2 separate regions of the Homo sapiens genome follow, and region 1 is linked to region 2. Evidence: promoter capture Hi-C in 16 types of primary human blood cells and fetal thymus (Javierre and others, 2016). All regions are on one chromosome and are shown on one strand. Each heading gives the region's core, a stretch centred on a gene start or on the middle of the fragment in contact. The rest is flanking DNA. Distances are from core to core; before and after follow the strand shown. Region 1 holds the start of LOC112268295 (a long non-coding RNA gene). Region 2 holds the start of ELFN2 (extracellular leucine rich repeat and fibronectin type III domain containing 2).

Region 1 (4,153 bases), core at 246-2,745, 400 kb before region 2:
TGGAATTCCCGGAGTGGGTGGACCCAGGGAGTTTGATTCTTTCTGCTCAAAGAGAACATCTCTCCCCATTTCCCAAGGGTAGGGGTTCCATCCTCCTTGCCCGGGATTTATCCTTTGTGCAGAGGTGGACGTAGGTGTCTGAGAAGGCCCCAAACTCCCCCCTGCCCATCACGACCTGGATTGCCCCTCCCCGTCTTTCCAGCCCTCAGGCACCATCTCAGCAGCGCAGGGGCAGTGTCCTGCCAGGCGGTACTGGGGAGAGCTCGAAGTTATCTTATTGGCCCTTCCTTTGGAAACGAGACCAGAGAGGGGCAGTGACTTACCAAGGCCACACTGAATTTATGAAGAGCCAGGGCCAGATCCAGATTCCCTGACTCAGTTTATTCCTCTTTTCACCTGACTGTATCCCCTCAACTTCCCCCTGATGCTGAGTCATTTCCCAAGTCCGCAGGGACGGGAGAAATCGACACAGCCTAGAATCTTGGTTTTCCAAGTAAGAGCTCTAAAGTAACTCCCAACCTCTCGGAGCCTCAGTTTCCTCCCCTAAAACATGGGAATCGTGTACTTCCGAAGAAGAAACTCAGATGAGAGCCCTTCCAAGAGTCCACTGCAGAGTCCCCGTTTTCCACACCGGGGGTTCTCAGCCTCAGTGCTGCTGACATTTACACTGAATGATTCCTTGTCATGGGGGCCGTCCTGTGTGCTGGGGGATGCTTGGCCGCGTTTCTGGCCTCTGCCCACTAGATGCCAGTAACACTGCCCAGTTATGACAACTGAAAGTCTCCAGATGTGGCCGGATGTCCCCTGGGGGGCAAAAATCACCCCCAGTCAAGAACCACTGCCCTAGGGGCAAATAACACAATTGACCACTGCAGTCAGGAACAGTGTAGACAGGGAACCCCAACATGGAGGGGCTCCCCGACTCCCCATCATAAGCACCTTCTCCCAGAAGTGGAAGTGAGGCAGTTTAGACACTCCCCCCTTTCTGGCCGGTCTCAGACAAGCTTTAGTTTTCCTTCCTGGAATGGCTCTGCCACTTTGAGGAGACAAGTTTGTCTGCAAACATGTGAGGTTCTGATCCAGCTTCCAGTCCCAACCACTCCACACAAGGCAGCCTGACCTCGAACATGCTGCCCAGCCTCTGCAGGCTTCCGTTTCTTTTTTCCCCCCCACCCCGAGATAAGAGTCTTGCTCTGTTGCGCGGGCTGGAGTGCAATGGCACGATCTCGGCTCCCTGAAACCTCTGCCTCGCGGGTTCAAGCGATTCTCCTACCTCAGCCTCCTGAGTAGCTGGGATTACAGGCACTCACCATCACGCCCGGCTAATTTTTGTATTTTTAGTAGAGACAGGGTTTCACCATGTTGGCCAGGCTGGTCTCAAACTCCTGCCCTCGTGATCCACCTTCCTCGGCCTCCCAAAGTGTTGGGATTACAGGCGTGAGCCACAGCGCCCAGACCCGTTTCTTCACCTGTAAAACGGGCAAAATAGTACCTTCCTGGCCAGCACGGTGGCTCACGCCTGTAACCTCAACACTTTGGGAGGCATAGGTGGGAGGATCACTTGAACTCAGGAGTTCAAGACCAGCCTGGACAACATAGTGAGACCTCATCTGTAGGCAAAAATAAGAAAAAAGATGAGCCGGGCAGAGTGGCATGTGCCTGTAGTCACAGCTACTTGGGAGGCTGAAGTGCAAAGATCGCTTGAGCCTGGGAGGTCAAGGCTGCAGTGAGCTGTGATGACACCACCGCACTCCAGCCTGGGAAACAGAGCAAGATCGTATCTCAAAAAAAGAAGTACCTTCCTGAGCAGTATGAGGATTACATGAGATAATCCACAGAAACTGTTTTGCTTGGTGCAGAGTAAACACCAAGGGTTTCTTCCCATTAGTTTTAAAGGAGTTTTACTTATTCAGCATGTTAAGTGCCTTCTGCACTTCCGGCATTGGAGGAGAGAGAGTGACAAATAGAATTGTGTCCCAGCCCTCTCAAAGCTTCCAAACTAGGGAGGAGAAACTAGTCTTTTAGAGTACATTTCCAGAGAGAAGGGGGTGCTGTGAAATGATCTATTTCACAACAGACTAATTTTACAGGTGGGAAAACAAGCTCAGAGAGGTTCAGTGATTTGCCTCAGGGCACACAGCTAGTTTGCTAGAGGAACCTAACTGGAGTTAGAATTCTCCAGGGGAGGAGTTTCTCCAGCGGATCTTGCCTGCCATGGTTTTCCAGATTCCAGGATCAAGGTGAGAACAGAAACGCATGAGAAGCTCAGGGAAGATGGCCACGTGTTTCTCAGCTCCACAGGGAAACCTTGAGCAGTGGAATTTAACCAATGGGTTTGGGTTAGGCGCCCTTCCCCTACCCTAGTCCAACCTGCAGCAAGGAAACCAAGGCTGATTCCAGCCCGGGCTTTTTTCTCCTGGGAAGGTCCTCCTTGGGTCTGGACAGGCTCGGAGGTGACCTGCCTAGAGGTGGGCGATCTAGCCGCACCTTTCTAGGACTACAGAGCTTCAGTTTAACTTTGCAGGAGTTTGTTAGGAATGAACTAGACACGCACCCTCCGCCCAGCTCCGTCCCGCCTCCTGCAAGCCTGAACTCTTAGAATAATTAACCACTGACTGCAGGATCCTGGCCTCTGCCAGGGCCCGCCCTACCCAACCTGTGTGTTCGAGGCAGGAACTTGCAACACTGAGCAACAAGAATGATGAAATTTTTATCCACTTGGCAAATATTTGCTCGGCGCCCCCTCTGTGTCAGGAACAGTTGGAAATGCGTTTCCCAACCTTGCCTAACCAGCTGCCCTGGAATGTTTTCCACTTCCTGGGTCATTGCCTCCAGAGATCAAAGCCCCCATCCACACAGTGGGCTGAATATGGATCCATGCAGCGATCTGGTCCTGGTGCTGTGGAATCAGCTTTGCACAAGGCCCCAGAAGGTCTGCGTTCCAGAGCCTTCCTGTTGGGGCCTCAGTCTTCTCATCTGAAAAATGGGAGCAAACTCAGTTCTGCCATGCCCAGTGTGGGTGTGATGTCACATCAGGTAAGGCTCAAAATGAAGTCAGGTGTCACACCTACTGGAATAACCTCAGCTCTATAAGCACAATGGAGCTTTATTATCCTTAACTCATGGAGGATGAATCACTTGGGGGAAGATGAAATGTTGAAATATTCAGGTTAACGGAAAGTGTTATTTTAAGCACCTAAATTTTTTGCCTATTAACCTACTAGGGGTGGAACTTGGTAGGCTGATCTTGCCTGAACTTCTGGGGGCTTTGTTTGATCCCTTGATTGCACAGCGATACCTGCAGGGGCTCCTTGCCCCTCAACTGTCAGGATGTTGAGGTCTTCAGGTCCTCGATACTGAATCCTAGCTGACTGCCCTTCTGGTTTCCCGTCTGTGTTCTCTGGAGTCTCCCTCGGCCTGCTTCGAGGCGGGCCCGCTCTCTAGATAATGCTGCCATTCGGATGGTTTCAACGACTGTGCTGAGCCAGTGACTCTGGAATCGGGGCCTCCCGCAACTCGATTCCTCCTGAACTCAGATCCCTGAGTCATGGCCTCCCAGCCCCAAGCCTGCTCCTCCACCTGTGTCCCCTGTCTCAGTGTGCACGGTCACCACTTGTGGGTCACCCAGGCCCACACCTGGCAGCAAGTGATCTGAGACTCTGTCCCACTTACCTACAGCCGGTCAGACCTCCACCTCTACTCCCATTGCCTTTGTCCAAGTCCCCCACTCAGCCCGCACCCAGCACTCAGCCTGTCTCCTCCATTCATTCCAGGGTACTTCCTAGGGACAGGCCCTGTGGCAGGATCTGGGGGCATGGAGGATAAAGACCAGCCCTGAGAGGGGGCATTCGCCCCATGGGGAGGGACAGACATGGATCCTGGCAACAGCGTGGCGAGGAGTATCTGAGAAGTGGAAACACAGAGAACCGCCATGGGTTGGGGGGCTGGTTCTGGGTCTGAGAGGCACCTCCACACCCACGCATAGTCCCTTTTATGAATTCCCTGGACTGTGCCCTCTTGCTCCAGGGAGAGCTGCAGCAGGGGACGGTTCAAAGGGCAGCCTCCGGAGCACCCTGACCTCCAACTCCCTGGCCGTGAGTGTGGGCAGAGGGGCCTGGATTTCCTCATCTGAGACGTGGCAATAATCCACTTT
Region 2 (4,029 bases), core at 343-2,842:
ACACACACACACTCCCAGTCCCATCTCATGATGCAACTTGCATATTAAAACGCCTCTCGGTAACCGCGCCGGGCAGTCCGCGCCCCACAGCTTCCACCACATTCCTCCAGGTGCTGCCAGCACCCCACTCCCTCCAGCTTTCTGACTCCGACAGCCTGGCCTGCTGATAGCGACAGCCGCAGCCCAGACACACACACACACTCCAGCCCAACACCTGCGTCTCAGCAAGGGACCAAGGCAGTGCCCTCCAGCCGCAGCTGCTGGGTGGGAGGAGTCCAGGGGGAAGGGGCACAGCACAGAGCCCTGAGCTGCAGAAAGTGCCGAGTACCACGTTCCTCCCCAGCTGAGTGCACGGTCAGCACCACTGTCCCCTTCTCGTCTCCCTCCTTGGGCACGCCTGACACACCATGGCCTGTGGCCTCTGTTTTGGACACAAGCTCCCCGAGTGTGCATGCACACGCGCGCGCGCGCACACACACACACACACATCAGCTCCCTTCCCTCCAAACATTCCGAGGAAATCCTGCCAGGCCACTGACAGTGTGCGTGTGTGCGCTTGTGTGTATACAGACAGAGAGCAGGGTCCACCCCATGTCCACACACACACGCACACACCACACACACACAGCACGCACAATCCTCTCCACATGCACACGGCGCCCCACCAGCCAACACACCCACCCCCTCCCCGTCCCCTGACAGCTGCTGGAGCCCACACACGCACGCACACACACACACTGGCACGCGCTCGCACACACACACAAACACACACACACACACACACCCGGCAGTGGCCCCGGCCCTGCCAGAGCTGCAGTGTCTGCGATTTATGCCGCCTCCCTGGGCTGCCTCCCTCCTTGTCCCTGGCCAGCGCCTCTGAAAGGGTCCCCACCCCCCAATTCTGGTCTTACCAACCCCACCGCCGTCAAGCCCCACCCTGGCCCCCCTTCCCCTAGAAGGCATCCACCCCGTCAACCCCTCTTACCAGCTAGAGGATGAATGCCTTGACCCGGCAGCACCCCGTGAAAGAGAGGGGTTAGGGCCCCCGATTCGAAAAGATGAGGGCAGAGAGGTGCAGTGTGGCACCGGCTGGCACACCGTCCACCATCGAGCCTCTGCACCACCCCCAGAAACGCTCACCTCACCGACCGTCCTCGGTGTCCTCCCACCGCCTCCGCCCACCGCCACCACCACCACCTCCCTCGCGCAGGGTGGTCCCCCGGGGGTCTCACGGGGATCCCCAGACCCAGGAGACACTGGGGGTGGCTCTCCCCGTCTCATCCCCCCTTCCGTGTCCCTCTCCAAGCCCCACCCCCACTGACGGAGGGGGTGCCCTCCGGCTCCAGCCCCGACTCCCACCGTCTCCCCGGTCGGTCGGTCGCGGCGCTCGGATCCAGAGGAATTCACTTACCCCAGCCCCAGCCGGGATCCGGGCCAAGCACCGCCTCCGGGAAGCGGCGGCCGCGGGGCCTGCGCGTGTGAGTGTGAGTGTGAATGTGAGTGTGAGCGCGGGTGTGGGTGCGGGGTGCGTGGCCGTGGGGTGGCCCGCGTGTGTCTGTGTGTGTGTCTGGGAGCGCGCGTGTGCGCGCAGACGCCGCCGCCCCCTCCTCCCCGCCGCCGCGCCTCTGCCCCTGCCTCGGCGGGGAGGGCGCCCGGGAGGGGCCAAGCGGCGCGCGTCAGGGACCGCGGCAGGCTGTGTCCGTCTGTCCGTCCCCGTCTGTCCGTCCGCCAGCCCGCCCGCTCCCGGTGCCCTCCGCAGGCCTTTCCGCAGCAAGCCCGCTCCCGCCCCCGAGCCGGCCGCACGCTCCACGGACACACGCGCGCTCGCAGACACACGCCCGCGGGGCTGGGGCCGCGCCTGGCGCCGCCGCTGCAGCTGCAGCGCCCGGGGAGGCGAAGGCGGCCCCACGGACCCGAGCCCCGGCCTGGCGGACCCCTGTCCCGGCCGCGGCCCCCTGCGCTGCTCACCCCGCGGGATCCGGGTCCGGGTCCGGGTCCGGCCTCCGCCAGCGCATTCAACAGCTGGGGGCAAACTTGCGGCGGGGCCGCCCGAAGTGCGCCTGGACTCGCCCTCCCCCTGGACTCCGCCTCCGCTGATGGGCCCCCTCTCCGCCTTGTACCTCCATGCCCTGCCGCCTGCGCCCTGCTGGTTGGTCCCGCGTTCAACCGCTGGCGACTGGGGAAGTGCGGCTGCTGCGTTCCCATTTTACAGGCCAGACAACTGAGGTTCGGAGAGGAGTGATTCCCCCAAGGTTACACAGGGAGCCTACAGACAGTATTAGACTTTACGCTCCCCTACCTTGTGCCAGGGCACTCACTGCCTTTCCCCACCCCTCCAGGAGTAGGTCCAAGGGATACTGGGCTCATCTGTAGCTAGAGAACCTTCATTAGCCTTCCAGAGGCCCAGTTCCCCGCCCCTTACGCCAAAGCCCCTGCCACCTGCTGCCACCTGCAAAGGGGTGGATGCTGGGAGGAGGAGGAGGAGGTGGAAGATGCAAGAAGCCTGGCACCCGGGGCCTATAACTTGGTGCTTGGGCATGCAAGCACCTCCTCCCGAGGCCCTGCGAGCTGCATGTCGGAGGCCTGCTGCCAGCAGGCCCTGTACTTCTCCATCACTTTTATAGGACCGCATGCACCAGCGCCTGTTCTCAGGTGTTGCACAGCAGATGAAGTCCAGGCTGCGGGAACTCCCCGTCGGGACATCTCATGCAGGTCTGGAATAAGGAGACTCCCCAGAAGAAGCCACTGCCTGAGCTGAATCTTGATGGATGAGTAGGAGTTGGCCAGCTAAAGAAGGAGGAGAAGGGTGTCCTGGACTCTGGGAACAGCATGTGCAAAGAGGCACAGAGGCATGAAACAGCTTTGTATGTGTGTACAGGGAACTCCACGGAGTTGGGTATTAGTAGAGCAGAAAGAACGTCTGTCCAGAAATTCCTCCCTCCTTTCAACTAAGAACAGGGAACGGCCCAGGATGGGGCTGGGAGGGCAGACAAGCACTGGGTCACAGGCCACTTGTTGTCCTGGGGTATGCAGAAGGACTATTGGGCGTTCCCCACCTGCACCCCAGGCTGCCTGGCACACTCCTACCCATCCTTCAAGGTCCCTCGCTGCAAACCCAAACAAGCCATGTGCTGTCTCTGCCCTCTAAACTGAGCCCTCCTACAGGGCAGGGGCGGTATCCAACACATGGTGTGTATCCCTGACAAGGCTGGGCAAGAAGCAGGGTCCCAGCTCCAAGACCTTGCTGGAAGAGCCCCTCAGGCGGAACATAACGGCCTCTGCGCCCTCTGGCGGATCCCTCGAGAAATTAGAGTGCTCCCCAAGCCAACAGCCCCCCTGTGGCTCTCAGGCCCAGACACTTTCTGAGATGGGCACTGGCAGATGCCACCTAATCCGCTCCTGCCCAAGAAACTGAGCAGTGATGACCCCAAAGAATACCAGGGAGTCAGTGGCAAAACAGCCTCTTGCTGCTCTGTTTCCGAGACATTCCCAGTCATCTTCCAGAGTGCAAGTCACAACCCTCTCTGAGCCTGTTTCCTCCTTTGTGAAAGAAATATAGCAAAAGCAGCCAGTACCCCCAGCACAGTGCCGGCCACTCCCTTCTCCCTGGAGACCTCCAGGTCTGGCTGGATTTGGTCAGAATTTGTTTGAAGCTCTAAAACGGTCTAAGAATCTCCCTTTGGAGACTTTGCCCTTACTGGGCAGATGTACATTGACAAGAGTTTCAGCTCTTAGCTGACTTTCTGCCACCATATAGAAGATAGAGTTGGCCTGGCCTGAGGGTCATAGTGGACCACACCATCTAGACACTCGACTGGGCTTTCTCTAGACCATAGTGGAAAGGATACATGTCTGCACTGTCAAAGACAGTAGCCACTAACTGCATGTGGCTATTGAGTGATTGGAATTGTGGCTAATGTGGCTGAGGAACTAAATTTTTAATTTTAATTGTTATTACTTTAAATTTAAATAGCCATAATGTGGCTTGTGGCTGCCATGTGAGATAGTGCAGCTCCAGACATATAGCAA

Evidence for each region. Contacts are between HindIII fragments. The CHiCAGO score rates a contact against its expected background, and 5 or more counts as called.
Region 1: a fragment that was not itself captured here is called in contact with the fragment with the promoter of ELFN2 in region 2 in 1 of 17 cell types (total CD8 T cells); the score reaches 7.2 in total CD8 T cells.

Annotation. Positions count from the first base shown.
Region 1 is chr22:37,030,291-37,034,443 of GRCh38, forward strand. LOC112268295 (a long non-coding RNA gene) reads left to right here and starts at 1,759. Exons shown (of 2, transcript XR_002958751.1): 1 at 1,759-3,036. RefSeq lists enhancers at 2,514-3,031, 3,124-3,789. The HindIII fragment of the contact is 987 bases long and covers 1,003-1,989 here.
Region 2 is chr22:37,425,887-37,429,915 of GRCh38, forward strand. It overlaps ELFN2 (extracellular leucine rich repeat and fibronectin type III domain containing 2), which reads right to left and starts at 1,593. Exons shown (of 3, transcript NM_052906.5): 1 at 1,412-1,593. The HindIII fragment of the contact is 18,273 bases long and covers 1-4,029 here.